Regions from separate parts of the Homo sapiens genome. Here regions 1 and 2 are each linked to region 3. The links are contacts of gene promoters, found by promoter capture Hi-C in blood cells and fetal thymus (Javierre and others, 2016). All regions are on one chromosome and are shown on one strand. The core of a region is centred on a gene start or on the middle of the fragment in contact, and the rest is flanking DNA. Distances in the headings are between cores, read along the strand shown.

Region 1 (4,726 bases), core at 2,059-4,558, 780 kb before region 3:
CAGCAAATCGTCATAGATATGAACTTTCACATTTAGAAAGGCCAGAGAGTGTTCCAAAGTGCTTTGCTTCCATTAGCTCATTTAATCCTCTCAAGTAACCTAGGAATTTGACACACTAACTCCATTTTAAAGAGGACCAAGCTGAGGCACAAAAAACTTGCCAGTGACGAGTATTTGCCTCCACGTGGGTGAGGACATGCTTGCCATACCTGAGCACAAGCATCTCTGCCAGGTACTTGGCCTCCTGGGTCTGGGTGGTTCTCCAGGTGGTTGCTGAGGGTCCGCACATGCTGCGAGAAGCAGGGCTGAATATCAGGGGTTTCTGGGACCTTCAGAGAGTAGATGCTGTGGTGGACCTGCACTCTGGCTGTGACCTACAACCTGATGGAACCCCGGGTTGTACGCCTTGACGTTCTGGCACTTGGCTGAGAACTTACCATTAAGGCTGGGGAGGAAGCGGAGCTTAGCACTGATGGAGCCGCCCAGGCTTTGGTGTAGTTGAGCCAGTGGTCAACAAGCTCTGCCTGGGTTTCTATGACCCTATCCCTCCTGGCACCATGTGCACATGGTCTGGAAAGAGGTGGTTACTTGCTGCAATGCCAGCCCGAGCTCTGCATTACTTAGGTTTTTCTAGCCGCTGTCCAGCAGTTCCCCCTGCACGGACATGTTCAGTGCCTGCTTGCAGCCTTGAAACCCCAGCATCCTCGCAGGCCTCATCATTGGAACCCTCTAGGGGCTCCTCCTTTTTCTGAGACTAGCTACTGCTCTAAATGAGCCTCTGAAATATGTGCTTTATAATCTCATTTACCCTCTCACCATTCTACTTTTGCACATTTGCAAACTAAGACCCACAGAAGTCAGGTAAAATGCCTAAGGTCACAGTACACAACAGAGCTAGCATCTGAATCCAGGTTCTTTGATGCCAAAGCACAATTTCCATTCACTGATCTATGTGTGGTGTTTCTCCTTTCTATTCAGTATCAGTGTCTTGATTTTTTATCCCTCTTAGGGCATTTGCAATTAAAGAAGGCTCACGGAAAGGAGCATGGGATTGCTCCTGGTTCCAGCTGGTTCTAACAGTGTGCTTGGAGCAGAAGTCTTTTCTCTCCACCCTGTATGGGGAGAGGCAGCACTGGCCAGAGGAATGGGTGCTTCTCAAGACCTGAATTGAAATCTGGGTTTTGTCATTTCATCAGCTGAGCCCTCCCACTCTCACGGCTTTCTTCCCTGAGTCCCACTTCCTTCATCTGTTACAGAATGAGAACAATAATAACCTCTTCAAGCTTGAGCTGTTGGATATAAAATGCCCAGCAGAGTGCCTGGCACAAAATAAGGTGTTCTTTTAGGGAAGTGGGTTAAATGGCTTGTTCAAGGTCTGGGTTTGCATCCAGGTTTGTCTGAATCCAAAGCCTAGTGCTCTTTCAATGTAATGCTTCTTTCCAATCTCTATGTTTGCATTCTTTTATTAAAAAGTGTGATTGATTTATCATAAGGGAACCTGGGACTGGATTATTTGCTGGAGAGATGGCTGTCTTCTGGGAAACAAATCTTTTTTCCCTCTTGTTTCTTCCCAGGACAGGGATAAGTAATCATGCTGCTCAGTCCCCTAGCCTCCTGACCTGGGAACAAGTGCTTCATGGCATTATAAATTCAAAGGAGTCTGGGAATTCAGCATGTTTGGTTATATCTCTTTCCCAGAACCTGGCACCAGTCTGTGGGCATTTCATAGCTGTAGATACAAGTGAAAATAATCATGCTTTGGCTGAATGGTGGTGAATCATTTGCTGACAAGGACAAGATACCAACAGGAGGAGGGCAAGGAAAACTCTCTGAGGATGTTTTGTTTTCAGCCCTGGGCAGCATTTGCTGAGCTGGGAGATTAGGAGGCATCATTTGGTGCCCAGTACTCACATCCCCCAATTGTTCAGAGGCAGTGTAAGGACGATGCAGGCAAGACAGTCTTCAGAGTCAGATGCCAAGTCCTCATGTGACCTTAGAAAAGAAGTGTGACTTCCTGTAAAACAGGAACAAACAGGACTTTTTAGCTGTTAACTTAAAAAAATTACAACACATGCTTGTTATGGAAAATTAAAAGTGTAAAGAGGTTATATAAGGTAAAAAATACCTTCTTCATCCAGCTGTGCTTCCCAGAGATAACCACTGTAAATAGGAGGTGTGTCACCTTCCAGACATGTTTCTATGTGTGCACACATGGACCCAGGCACATAGGCACATACTACTTTCTTTTACAAAAATATAATAGTGCCAGGCCATATATACTTTTGCCTATGGAGAAGCTGATTCCCAGAGAAAAGAAGTGATGTGCACAAGGTCACACAAAGACAGATTGGAGCAGAGATGGCCCTGACCCTGTGTCTCTTGCCTGTATTTCCAGACTCAGACCGCCTCCTACCCTGCCTCACTCTCTTGGGCTGTGTGCATTCTAATTGAGCACCATAGGGGATACAAATGCAGACAATTATTCTGGCAGATAGTCAAGGGCAATAGTCAAAATATTTACTACTCTGCAAGTTGCAGCCCCAGCCAATCAGAACTAACATTGGCTGCAAATGACCTTCCTGAGGTTACTGGCTAAATATTGGCCCTGCATGTAGGAGTCTCATTTCACACCCTACATATCTCTCCACGGATGGCTGGGAAGGAATCCATGAATGAATAAATGAGGATGCAAAGTGATCTGAAATAATATCGCAAAGGAAGAAAAACTTCTTTCAATAGAAGTGTAATGTTATCAACTGCAGTGTTATCTGCCTATATATTTTTACAATCAGAGCCCTGTGAAAGGAGAAGAGGCAATAATAGAAAATGAAGGAAATAGAAAGGAGATGTTTATTGGAGTTCAACAGAACTGGACTCGAGATATGGCTCTGCGCTTAGTGGCTCTCAGACCCTGGGCAAGTGACTTAATCTCCTTGACTTTTTTTTTTTTTTTCCTGTAAACATCTGTGAATGTGAGGAGGAGAGGCACAAAAAGTAACTTAACCATGATTATACTAATTAAGGGACAGATAGGCTGAGGGGTCTGAGGGACTTTTAGTCTAGTGGGCTTATAATTTAATGTCAGGGGTAGCCCAGGGATCCTGAATTTTGCCAACAGAAAAATCATGAGATCTATGCAGATTTGGACACAGGACTTTATTTCTCATAAAGGGTTATAGCCTGCCAATGGTCATCCTGACAGGCTGAGAAGTGTACCTTCAACAGAGACCGAAAGGCAGTACTTTGAAGAAGGAGGGGTTGAGGCAGGAGCTTTATGCTACATAGGTTGGCTAAATATACATATTCAACAGGTTACAGGAGAAGCTATGAATATTCACCAAGTGGTTTCTGATGCATGCATACTGAATAAACATGCATGCTACAAATGATCTATGTTCATATTGGAGAGGGTACTTAACATTTAAATTTATTACAATGAGGCTGTCTATATTTCAGAAGATAAAACAGGGACATAAATGTTCTCAAGTGCAAAGCCTCTATAAAACCGACCAGAACCAGTCCATAGTCGGTGGTCTTTTACCAGGAAAGTTACTGAAATCTCTTTCTTGTCTAATCAAAGCTGTAGTTATGGCTTGTGGAACAGGAGGTCGGTTAGTCAGCACATGGTGGTGAATGAGCTGCAGTTATTTTAATATTGCTTTCCTTGAGGCCAGTGCTTGTTGAGCTGCTTAAGAAAGAAAAACCTTGTGGCAGTTAAAACAAAGTTTATTCTTTAAGTGTAGGGGTGCGTGACTTAACCTTTGCCTGACATGGGCGTAGGTCCTGTTTATAATTGGATATCTTACTGCCACAAAGAGTCTGTTCTGTCAGTCATATGATCTCTATTTTAACATTCATGCTGGTCAGTTGGTGTGTCTGTATACAAAAGGGAGAGGATATAACGAGGCTTGTGTGATCTCTTGTCTCCTTATGGCCAGGAACTCCATTTTTAAGGTTTCTCTGAGGTCTCCTTGGCCAAGAGAGAGTCTGTTCAATTGGTTGGGGTGGGTGCTTAAGGTTTAAATTTTAGTTCTCAATCCCATATAGGGTCTTGAGACCTTTCTCATCCTCGATTCAATCTGAGGGCAATTCTGAGTTAAATCTCCAAATAACTTCTATTCTCTCCTTGTGCACCTCATCTCTACCCCAACATACACAGGAGAAGATCACCTGAACAATAAACTTGTAGGTTTAAAGAAACTACTAGGCACCTGGCAATCCCTTGCTTCCTGCAGTCTTCCTGTCTTTCTTGAGATACTTTTTCTTAAGGATTTCTCATGGGTCTGCCTCACTTGACAATGGATATATATACTCTCAGTATTTAGCGTGGAGAAGACCCAGACTCATGAAAGAGATGCAGAGAACTAGCAGGGAGAGACAGAGACAGAGACAGAGAAAAGCCATGACTAGCATCACTAAATTAACCATGTCCTCGAGACTCATAATTCATACCATCGTTATATGTTCTCTAGGTAATTTCTGCAACCTTCCAACAAGTATTCCCATCTCCTGAAGGACAGCTGGGATCATGGCAAACTCTGAGACAAAAACCTGCAGTGGCTCGTTGTTTATAGCATTGGCTCCCAATTAAGCCTGTTAAAAATAGAGGTTTTGGGTTTCAATGTATGGAACTTTAGAAGACGAGTTCTGAGAACTAAAACTATCTACGCCCTACAGAGCTTCTACATCAACGTGACATTACTATAACACTGTCTTCACTAGCATA
Region 2 (4,575 bases), core at 600-3,099, 750 kb before region 3:
GGATATTATGAATCATATCACAGGGGGGTGGACATCCCCCACGATATGGGGAGTAGTATCACCCTCCTCTCTCCCCCACTGGATATTACGAACCATATCACAGGGGGTTAGACACCGCTCGCGATATGGGGAGTAATATCACCCCCCTGTCCCCCCTGGATATTATGAACCATATCACAGGCAGGTGGACATCCCCCGCGATATGGGGAGTAATATCACCTCCCTCTACCCCCTGGATATTACGAACCATATCACGGGGGGTTGGACACCCCCAGCGATATGGGGAGTAATATCACCCCCCTTCCCCTCTCTGCTTTTTGCAACCAGTCAGAGGTACTTTCAATTTCCAATTTGCAGTGCAGAAAATGTGGCGGTTTGCAAAGGGAGTAGCCTCTGGTGCTTTTGTTTCTTAGGTGTGGACAGGTAGGATTTTCCTTTCAATTTAGCTCTAGGAAGTCAGCGTGAAACGGCCTTAGGTTACCTACCTCCAGACCCTATTCTCCTGCCTCAAAAGGATGCAATATAAAATATTGCTACAAGCCAAGCTGCTGTTCGTGTGTGATGTCTGCACAAAGACTTTCCTACAGGTGTATACATTCAGGAAGTGTATCACCCGTGCACCCTAACTGAAAAATTGAGTAATGTTATGTTCCAGTGTAATGAGAAGTGAATCAAAATAAAGAAATCAAGAGTTGGTAAACTATTAAGGAGATAAATATTAAAACCAATAAAATAGAGAATTAAGCTTAATTTCGTGTTTCAAATATGATAAAATAGAATGAAAGACAAAAAGTAATTATTGACAAAAATGATACGTAAAAGTAAAATTTCAGGAATAATCTGGGTTCAAAAATCTCATACTGCAGTTATTGGAAAAAATGATTGACATTAAATTGGTCTAAACTTTGCTGGGTTTGTTATTTTACATGTGGGAGTGTGCATAGATACTCTTATTTTCTTTTGTTAATTAGAGAAATACAGCCATAAGCATATTGCTGAAAAATTAGCTAAGAATTAAAAATATAATGCTAAGCCCCCCACCCAACTGAATGGACCCCTTCTTGGCAAGGGGACCCCAGAGAAACCTTAAAAAAACTTGAGTTCCTGGCCATGACAGGGACAAGAGGTCAGGCACACCTCATTCTATGGGCTCCCTTTTCTGGTTTAGACACAATAACCATCAACATTTATGTTAAAATAGAGATCATAAGACTGACAAAACAAACTCTTTGTGGCAATTAGATACAAAATTATAAACAGGACCTAAGGACATATCAGGCAAAGGTGAAGTCAAGCACTCCTACACTTAAAGAATAAACTATGGGCCAGGCATAGTGGCTCATGCCTGTAATCCCAGCACTCTGGGAGGCCGAGGCAGGCAGATCACCTGAGGTCAGGAGTTCAACACCAGTCTGGCCAACATAGTGAAACCCCGTTTCTACTAAAAATACAAAAATTAGCTGGTTGTGGTGGCGGGCGCCTGTAATCCCAGCTACTGGGAAGCTGAGGCAGGAGAATTGCTCGAACTGGGGACGTAGAGGTTGCAGTGAGCCGAGATTGCGCCACTGCACTCCAGCCTGGGCAACAGAGTAAGACTCCGTCTTAAAAACAAAACAAAACAAAACAAAACAAAACAAAAACAAAAAACCAAACAAACAAAAATCTATGTTCTAACTGTCACAAGGTTTTTCCTTTTCTCTAGCAGCTGAACAAGCACTGGCCTCAAGATAAGCAATATGGAAACAATTGTAGCTCCTTCATGCCAGAAGCCGACAAACTGACCCTGCATAACCACAGCTTTGATTGAACAAGTGACTGATTTCCATAGCTTTTTTCTGATAAGACACCACTGACCCCGTAGGCTGGTTCTGGCTGGTCTTGCAGAGGCTGTGCATTTTAGCACCTTCCAGTCCCTGCTTCACCTTCTGAATAATAGGGCCTAATTGTAATAGATTTAAATGTTAAGTCTCCACCCCGAGGTGAACATGGGATGCATGTATCATGTACGTTTGCTTACCTTGTATGCATGCAACTCACTTTCGTTAATATTTATAGCTCCCCCTGTATCCTGTTGAATATGTATACTCGGCCTACCCAGTCAGCATTGATTCCTGTCTTATCCCTCTCTCCCTGGAAGTGCTTGCTTTTGGTATTTCAGCCAGAGGCTGTGCTCCCTGCCTGCAGGTTGTAAATTCCTTAAGAAATAAAGCTCTCCTTTCTAAGTTTCTAAACTTGTGATTTTTAAGCTAACAGTGCTAATTAAATTCAAAACAAAATTTGTGACTTCCAAATTACTTAAAAAACAAAAAAATCTAGTGGGAGGATTGCATTGGGTTTTCTTCTCTTCACCTCCCGCCATGGCTAAGATTTTTCCTTCCTTAGACTTTCTCTGTATAATTAAACTCTGGTCATCAGTAGCCCACTGAGCCCCTCTTCATCTAAAGCATAACTTTTAAATGCTTTTGTGCAGTGGGCCGCTTGACAGTCTGGGGAGGCCTATTACCCCATTCTCAGGATCACGAGTCATGAATGGGGGAAATAAAACACAAGGAATATGAAGGAAACAAAATTATATTGACATATAGTTATCTGAATATCTTAAATTAATTACATCATATCTAGCTGCATCTAGCTGCAAAGTCTCATATTTAATGAGTTCATTATACAATCATAAATTAAATACTTTCAATATTATAAGAGTAAATGGTAGTTCAGTTATTCTCAGCTATAATCAGATATGAAATTTTCTCACTACCATCTTGATGAAGTCAGGGATAATGGAAATCTCTGGTAGTTTGGTACATACATTTATAATTGAAGAAAATCCTAAATTATGGTTGGAAGTTAATAAAAATAAAGATACGATTTTTCTTCTCTTCAACTTTAGAGAGCCCTTGAATTTAAACGAATGCCCAGGCAGTCTGTGGACACAGATGAAATGTCCTTGATCTAAAAAGCTTCATTTCTCTTCAGCGAAAGTTCTCCCCATGAAAACAGGGCTTCTAAAACTGCCTTCCCTCAAAGGCTGTACAAACATGCATTCCTGGCAATAACCTAGAGGAGTGCCCATTTCTCCATACTCTCCTTTATAGCAGATGCCCTCAAATGTATTCACACTTTACCAATCTAAAAAGAGAGAAAAAAAAGGTAATTGCATTGTAGTTTTATTTTGCTTTTTCATAATTTCAAGATTTTCATTCAGCTTTGGTTTCTAATTTCTTTTTAATTACAGATTTTTTTTTTTTTAGATGGAGTCTAGCTCTGTTGCCCAGGCTGGAGTGCAGTGGCACAATCTTGGCTCACTGCAACCTCTACCTTCCGGGTTCAAGCGATTTTCTTGCCTTAGCTTCCTGAGTACCTGGGATCACAGGAGTGCACCACCATGCCCAGCTAAATTTTGTATTTTTTAGTAGAGACAGGGTTTCACCACATTGGCCAGCTGGTCTCAAACTCCTGACCTCAAGTGATCCACCCACCTTAGCCTCCCAAAGTGTTGGGATTACGTCCATGAGCCACTGCACCTGGCCAGAAAATCTTTATATAACATGCATATTATAGAAAGTTCCCACATTCCCTAGGTAACTGTCATATCTGCAAAATATATAAATTGTATAGAAAAATTTAAAAAATTCATGAAACTAAAATAATTTTACTTTTCACTGCATTTTGACTAATTCATTTCTTCACTTAATAAATATTGAGTAATTATATACCGGAAACCTTAGTAGGCACAAGATGGGAATAGTGACCCCAAACTATAATTTTCAGGCACTTTCCCCTCCCCACTTGAGTAATTCAGTATCAAAAACCTCATTATCATTCTCTGTGTGTTTGCAATCCTTGCAAAGGGAGGGTTGCATGTATGCATGATAAGCACACATTCATGATACACGTGTCCCACGTTCACCTTGGGGTGGAGACTTAACATTTAAATCTATTACAATTAGAGATGCCTGTGGAACAAGGAAGTCACCTTTAAGGAATGGACTTGGTTTTTGTTGCAGTGCCCACTTTGAGAACTCTTCCTTGAACAGGTTGGACCTCCCACTTGTCATTCTCTCATTCACAAGTGTTCTGGCCACAGTGTCCTGAGGTCACAGTTTCCCAGTAGTTGAGTTTTAATAAAAAGCAACACTTATTAGCTAAGTTAAAATATACCCCAACAGAAGACGAGATGGACTCCCTGTAGCTAAAATGAGATAAACCCAAAAAATTTCATAGCTAGGAGGATGAGGGATCTGTAACACATCCCGGTGTTATTAATTGCCATAGGTTTTTTTTCCCGGTAATTACGCAGAAACTATCACCTGAAAAGCATTGCCAAAAAACACTACAGTTGGAAGATTTCCCAGCTGACCCTGACAGAGTGCCGGTTGCCAGCCTACTGAGACAGCCAAGTAAAAAGGGTTCCCCGGCAGGACTTCCGACTGGCCTGCGCACTGGGAGGAGTGCGCACTCGGGTGAAGCCTTGAGGAATTTCCTGTTGGTTTGCAGTGAGGAGGAGCCTGGCTTCTCCTGTTCCGGGTGGTAACCCGGTGATTCCAGTCTATGAGGTGGGAAGCCCACTGGCAGGAC
Region 3 (4,817 bases), core at 2,037-4,536:
GAGGAAGTCAGCCTAGGATAATCCATATGCTCTATGCTTGTTGACCAAAAGAGAATCCATCTAATAATAAAGTAGAAACTGATTGGGAGTCAGAAGCCTGAGTTTTGTCTTCAGCTCCATTCATAACTTGCTGAGGACTTTGGAAAAGTCATTTCTCCAGATTCTCATTTTCCCAAATGGGAAAGGAGAGGGTTGAATCAGATGAGTTTGAAGTGTCCCTTTGGATTTGGGTTCCCTATGGCTTTTTTAGACTTTCTGACTTGAAAATAAAGTGTAAATAAATAAAGTATAATAAAGTTAGGCATTTTTAAGCATTATAGATCTTTAGTATGAGAACTCAAAAGAAGGGAACTGAATTTAGTGGGCTACAATTTTTGACATATTCCATTTTGGTGGAGGAAATCCAGGCAATGGTCTAACAATCTATTCTTCTAGGTAGTAAAACTAAGTGGGAAAAAAATTTGTGTGTGTGTGTGTGTATACATATTTGTGTGTATATGTATATTTGTATATATATATATGTTATATGTGTGTGTGCAGGGATAATTGTATATATGTGTATGTTTGTGCATATATATGCACACACACACTTAGCATGCTTAAGACCAGAACATTTATTCTAATTATATAATGCTCTTAAGAAAAGTCATTGCACAAAATTCATAGAATGACAAAAATTTGGACTAGCACGGTCAGCACAATTATAGGAAAGAAGGGATATGAACAGGTTTCCATAAAGGGGAAAGGGGAGCCGTACCTAAGCTGACTGAGATGGGCTGAGCCATTGTGGTCAAGAACAAACAGCAATCAATATTTCCTGGGCAAGAAAAGCAGCAGGGAGAAGAGGGTTCATTCAATATTTAAAGACAGTGATAAGCAAGGGACAACTTTGATGTCATCAGGCCAGAACAGACGATGACTATGAAGACAAGAGGTAAGCCCATACATATCTGGCAGTTAAGAAAGACAGACTGGCACTGATGTAAGATCAAAATGAGGAAACAGGCCAGGAACAGTGGCTCACTCCCAGCACTTTGGGAGGTGGAGGCAGCCCAATTGCTTGAGCTCAAGAATTTGAGAACAGCCTGGAAAATATGGCAAAACCCTGTCTCTACTAAAAATACAAAAATTAGCTGGGCATGGTGGCATGTGCCTGTAGTTCCAGTTACTGGGGAGGCTGAGGCAGGAGAATCGCTTGAACCCATGAGGCGGAGGTTGCAGTGAGCTGAGATCGCATGCCACTGCACTCCAACCTGGTGACCGAGCGAGACTCCGTCTCAAAAAATAATAACAATAATAATAATACAAAACTTAGCAGGGTGTGGTGGCACATGCCTGTAGTTCCAGCTACTTGGAAGGCTGAGGTGAGGGGGATCACTTGAGCCCAGGAGGTCTAGGCTGCAGTGAGCCATGACCATGACTGTGCCACTGCACTCAAGCCTGGATGACAGAGTGAGACCCTGTCTCAAAAAAAAAAGGAAATTTTTTTTAAAAATTAGGAAATACAAATGCGTATAAAGAGGCAGAAATGCCCTGAGAAAGACTCAGTGGTGAAATTAAGGTTGCTGTATTTTATTATTTGTATGGAATTTGTTTGCCCATGCATGTTTGCACCCAATGGTAACTGTGGTTCTGTGTCACTTATCATATTAAAAACTGCTCCTAGCTTTGTGTTTTTTACAAATTTCTAATCTCCCCTCAAATCACTGGTCAAGCAGTCAAAACCAAGACGAGCCTAGATTGATCTTCACTAAAACATCAATCTATTTAATCCTATCAAAAAGGAAGTAAGAGGAATTTGGTATCTCTTATCTTGGTGAAATCTTCCCTACCAGAATGTAAGTTACTCAAAGACAGGCAGGGAGTTTTGCCCATTCTGTTTCCTGATCTATCCTTGTAACCACCCAATGGGTTCACCTTGCCCACTGCCTAGACAGAGCTCATTTATCAAGACAGGGGAATTGCAATGGAGAAAGAGTAATTCAGGCAGAGCTGGTTGTGCAGGAGGACTGGAGTTTTATTATTACTCAAATTAGTCTCCCTGAGCATCAGGGATCAGAGTTTTTAAAGATAATTTGGCGAGTAGGGGCTTGGGAAGTGGGGAATGCTGATTGGTTAGGCTGGAGATGGAATCAAATGGGTCGAAGTGAGTTTTTCTTGCTGTCTTCTGTTCCTGGGTGGGATGGCAGAACTGGTTGAGCCAGTTAACGGGTCTGGGTGGTGTCAGCTGATCCATCTAGTGCAGGGTCTGCAAAATATCTCAAGCACTGATCTTAGGTTTTACAGTAGTGATGTTATCCCCGGGGCCAATTTGGGAAGGTTTATACTCTTGGAGTCAGAGGCTGCATGACCCCTAAACAGTAATTTCTAATCTTGCAGCTAATTTGTTAGTCCTGCAAAGACAGACTGGTCCCTAGGCAAAAGGGGGGTCTCTTCAGGAAAGAGCTGCTATTAATTTTGTTTCAGAGTCAAACCATGAACTGAATTCCTTCCCAAAGTTACTTCAGCTTATGCCCAAGAATGGACAAAGACAGCTTAAAGATTAGAAGCAAGATGGAGTCAGGTAGATATGATTTCTTTGACTGTCATAATTTCCTCAGTTATAATTTTGCAAAGACAGTTTTATCATAAGTACAAAGAACAGGGCCTGGGACATAGGTGCCCACTAAATATTTTGCTGAATAAATAGATTTTTTTCCACCACTTATCCTCAGAGTTTACCAGAAGGGTTTGGCCTATGACTTACTATATTTGGTGTGTTACTATTATAAGAACAAAACACATAATATATAATTAATCACAAACAATAATCATATAACGATCATAATATAATAATATAATCAAACACTTATTTAGTACTTATTGTGTGCGAGGTACTGTTTGAAAGACTTGATTTTTATAAACCCATTTAATTCTCCTAATAGACTCAAGAAGTGGCAGCGTTTCTCGCCCCATTTTACAAATAAAAGGTAGAATAGGCTGTAAATGCATAGTTGTGATTTGCTGCTGAATGGATGAGGTAGGAGGGAATGAGCTGGACTTACTGGATTGCATTGGGCAGAAGGGTCCTGCAATCTTGTGCTACAAGAGAAGAAATATTGATTGCTTTGTTGCCATAACATCTTTTGCAAACCAGATCATCTGCATTTCCCACTGCTCCATGGCTGGTTTCTCGTTCCATCAATTTCTTATGCTTTGGCCTCATGTAAATAGTAAACCATGCTTCTGGAATCTCCGCTCCTTTGTTAACAAGTCTTCCAAATAAATGGGCTGTGGGAGTTCATTATTTTAATGGGCAGAGGTAGCCACATTCTTTCCCCAAGAGGCTGCCCTCTGCCACTCACTCCAGGGTCCAACATAAAAAGCCCAGCAATCATTAGAGCTAAACATTTCTGAGCACTAATTGTTCCCTGGAGTGGTGGCGAAAAGAGCCAACCGCTCATCACGGGAGCCTCTTTCCATCCCCCTACCTATTCTTCTCTGAGCTTTCCCTGATTTGAGTCCAGGAAGACTCCCTGCTGGGTTAGTAGATGCCTTTTGCTTAAAAGAAATTTCATCAGAAGTAAATCACACATAAACACACCAAGCCTTGTGCTGAAATATACTGGTTAGAAACACATGTTTCCAACTCTGAGAATTGGGTTTAAATTCTGGCTCTGCCCTTTTATCAATATAAACATGTTCAATGTTGTTTAATGTCTTAAACTTATCAACTCCCTCATTTGTAAAACTGGTGTAACAAGAATACCTACCTCAACAGAGTTGTGATAATTAAATAAGCTGTGAATAAGAAAGGCTTAGCACAGTGCCTAACAAACAGAAATCACTCAATGAATGTAAACTAATGATGTCATTAACTCTGTTTCTTGGGTCATGGCCAAAAATATGTCTTTCCTTTCTATCTTTTTATTGTGACTTATTTGCATCACGATGAAAAGATTTCTTTTCTCTTTATTTTTTTTAATGAGGCTGGATGGGATGAAGGGCTTGATGGGGCTCTTCTTTTCTCTTTTTAATATTTTGGGTGCTACTACCAGCAATGCCACTACCTGGATGAGTCACTGTGGGCAAGTCAATTAACCCCTCCAGCCTGAGTGAATTGGGCTCACTCTCCAAGAATTCCTCCAGCCCTGAAAGTCTGATGTTTCAAAACATTGATTTCCTGTTTTTTTAAATGTTTTCTTCAGAAATAAAGTTTATAAAAAATGAATTCATCTATTTCATGGAGACTAAGTCAGCAATCCTCAGTCTCAAAAGAAAAAAAATTAAATGAGAGAAATGTCTTCTATATAAAGGGGTATAATTACTGAGACTCTTGACTTACAAGGTAACAGGCTTAATTTAGGGAAGAAATTTAGCAACTAAGACTGTTGACAGAAACGGAGGTAAATGTCTTCAAGAATCAACTGTGAACATGAAAAGGCAAGGAAGTCCATCCTCAAAAGAAACATTCTTATCTAAGTTTGAAGATAAACTGTCCTAGGAAATTCTGATGCTGAAAGAGTAAACCCCAACTAACTATGAAAGAGTTTGATACTGAGTTAAGATCTGGGAAATTTAAAAGGTAGATCTCACAGTTATGAAGGATACATTTTTCTAGGATTAGAAAAGGCTGATAAGGGCCGGGCGCGGTGGCTCATGCCTGTAATCCCAGCACTTTGGGAGGCCGAGGCGGGCAGATCACGAGGTCAGGAAATTGAGACTATCCTAGTTAACACGGTGAAACCCCGTCTCTACTAAAAATACAAACAAAAAAAAAATTAGCCAGGCGTGGTGGCGGGCACCTGTAGTCCCAGCTACTCAGGAGGCTGAGGCAG

What was found. Contacts are between HindIII fragments. The CHiCAGO score rates a contact against its expected background, and 5 or more counts as called.
Region 1: a fragment that was not itself captured here is called in contact with the fragment with the promoter of OR5A2 in region 3 in 2 of 17 cell types (total B cells and naive B cells); the score reaches 8.6 in total B cells.
Region 2: a fragment that was not itself captured here is called in contact with the fragment with the promoter of OR5A2 in region 3 in 1 of 17 cell types (naive B cells); the score reaches 5.9 in naive B cells.

The regions. Positions count from the first base shown.
Region 1 is chr11:58,638,663-58,643,388 of GRCh38, forward strand. No RefSeq gene overlaps it. Among named protein-coding and RNA genes, the nearest start is that of CNTF, 18 kb to the left of the region's middle. The HindIII fragment of the contact is 4,055 bases long and covers 1,282-4,726 here.
Region 2 is chr11:58,670,374-58,674,948 of GRCh38, forward strand. No RefSeq gene overlaps it. Among named protein-coding and RNA genes, the nearest start is that of CNTF, 50 kb to the left of the region's middle. The HindIII fragment of the contact is 2,212 bases long and covers 744-2,955 here.
Region 3 is chr11:59,423,127-59,427,943 of GRCh38, forward strand. It overlaps OR5A2 (olfactory receptor family 5 subfamily A member 2), which reads right to left and starts at 3,287. Exons shown (of 2, transcript NM_001001954.2): 1 at 3,045-3,287. The HindIII fragment of the contact is 12,260 bases long and covers 1-4,817 here.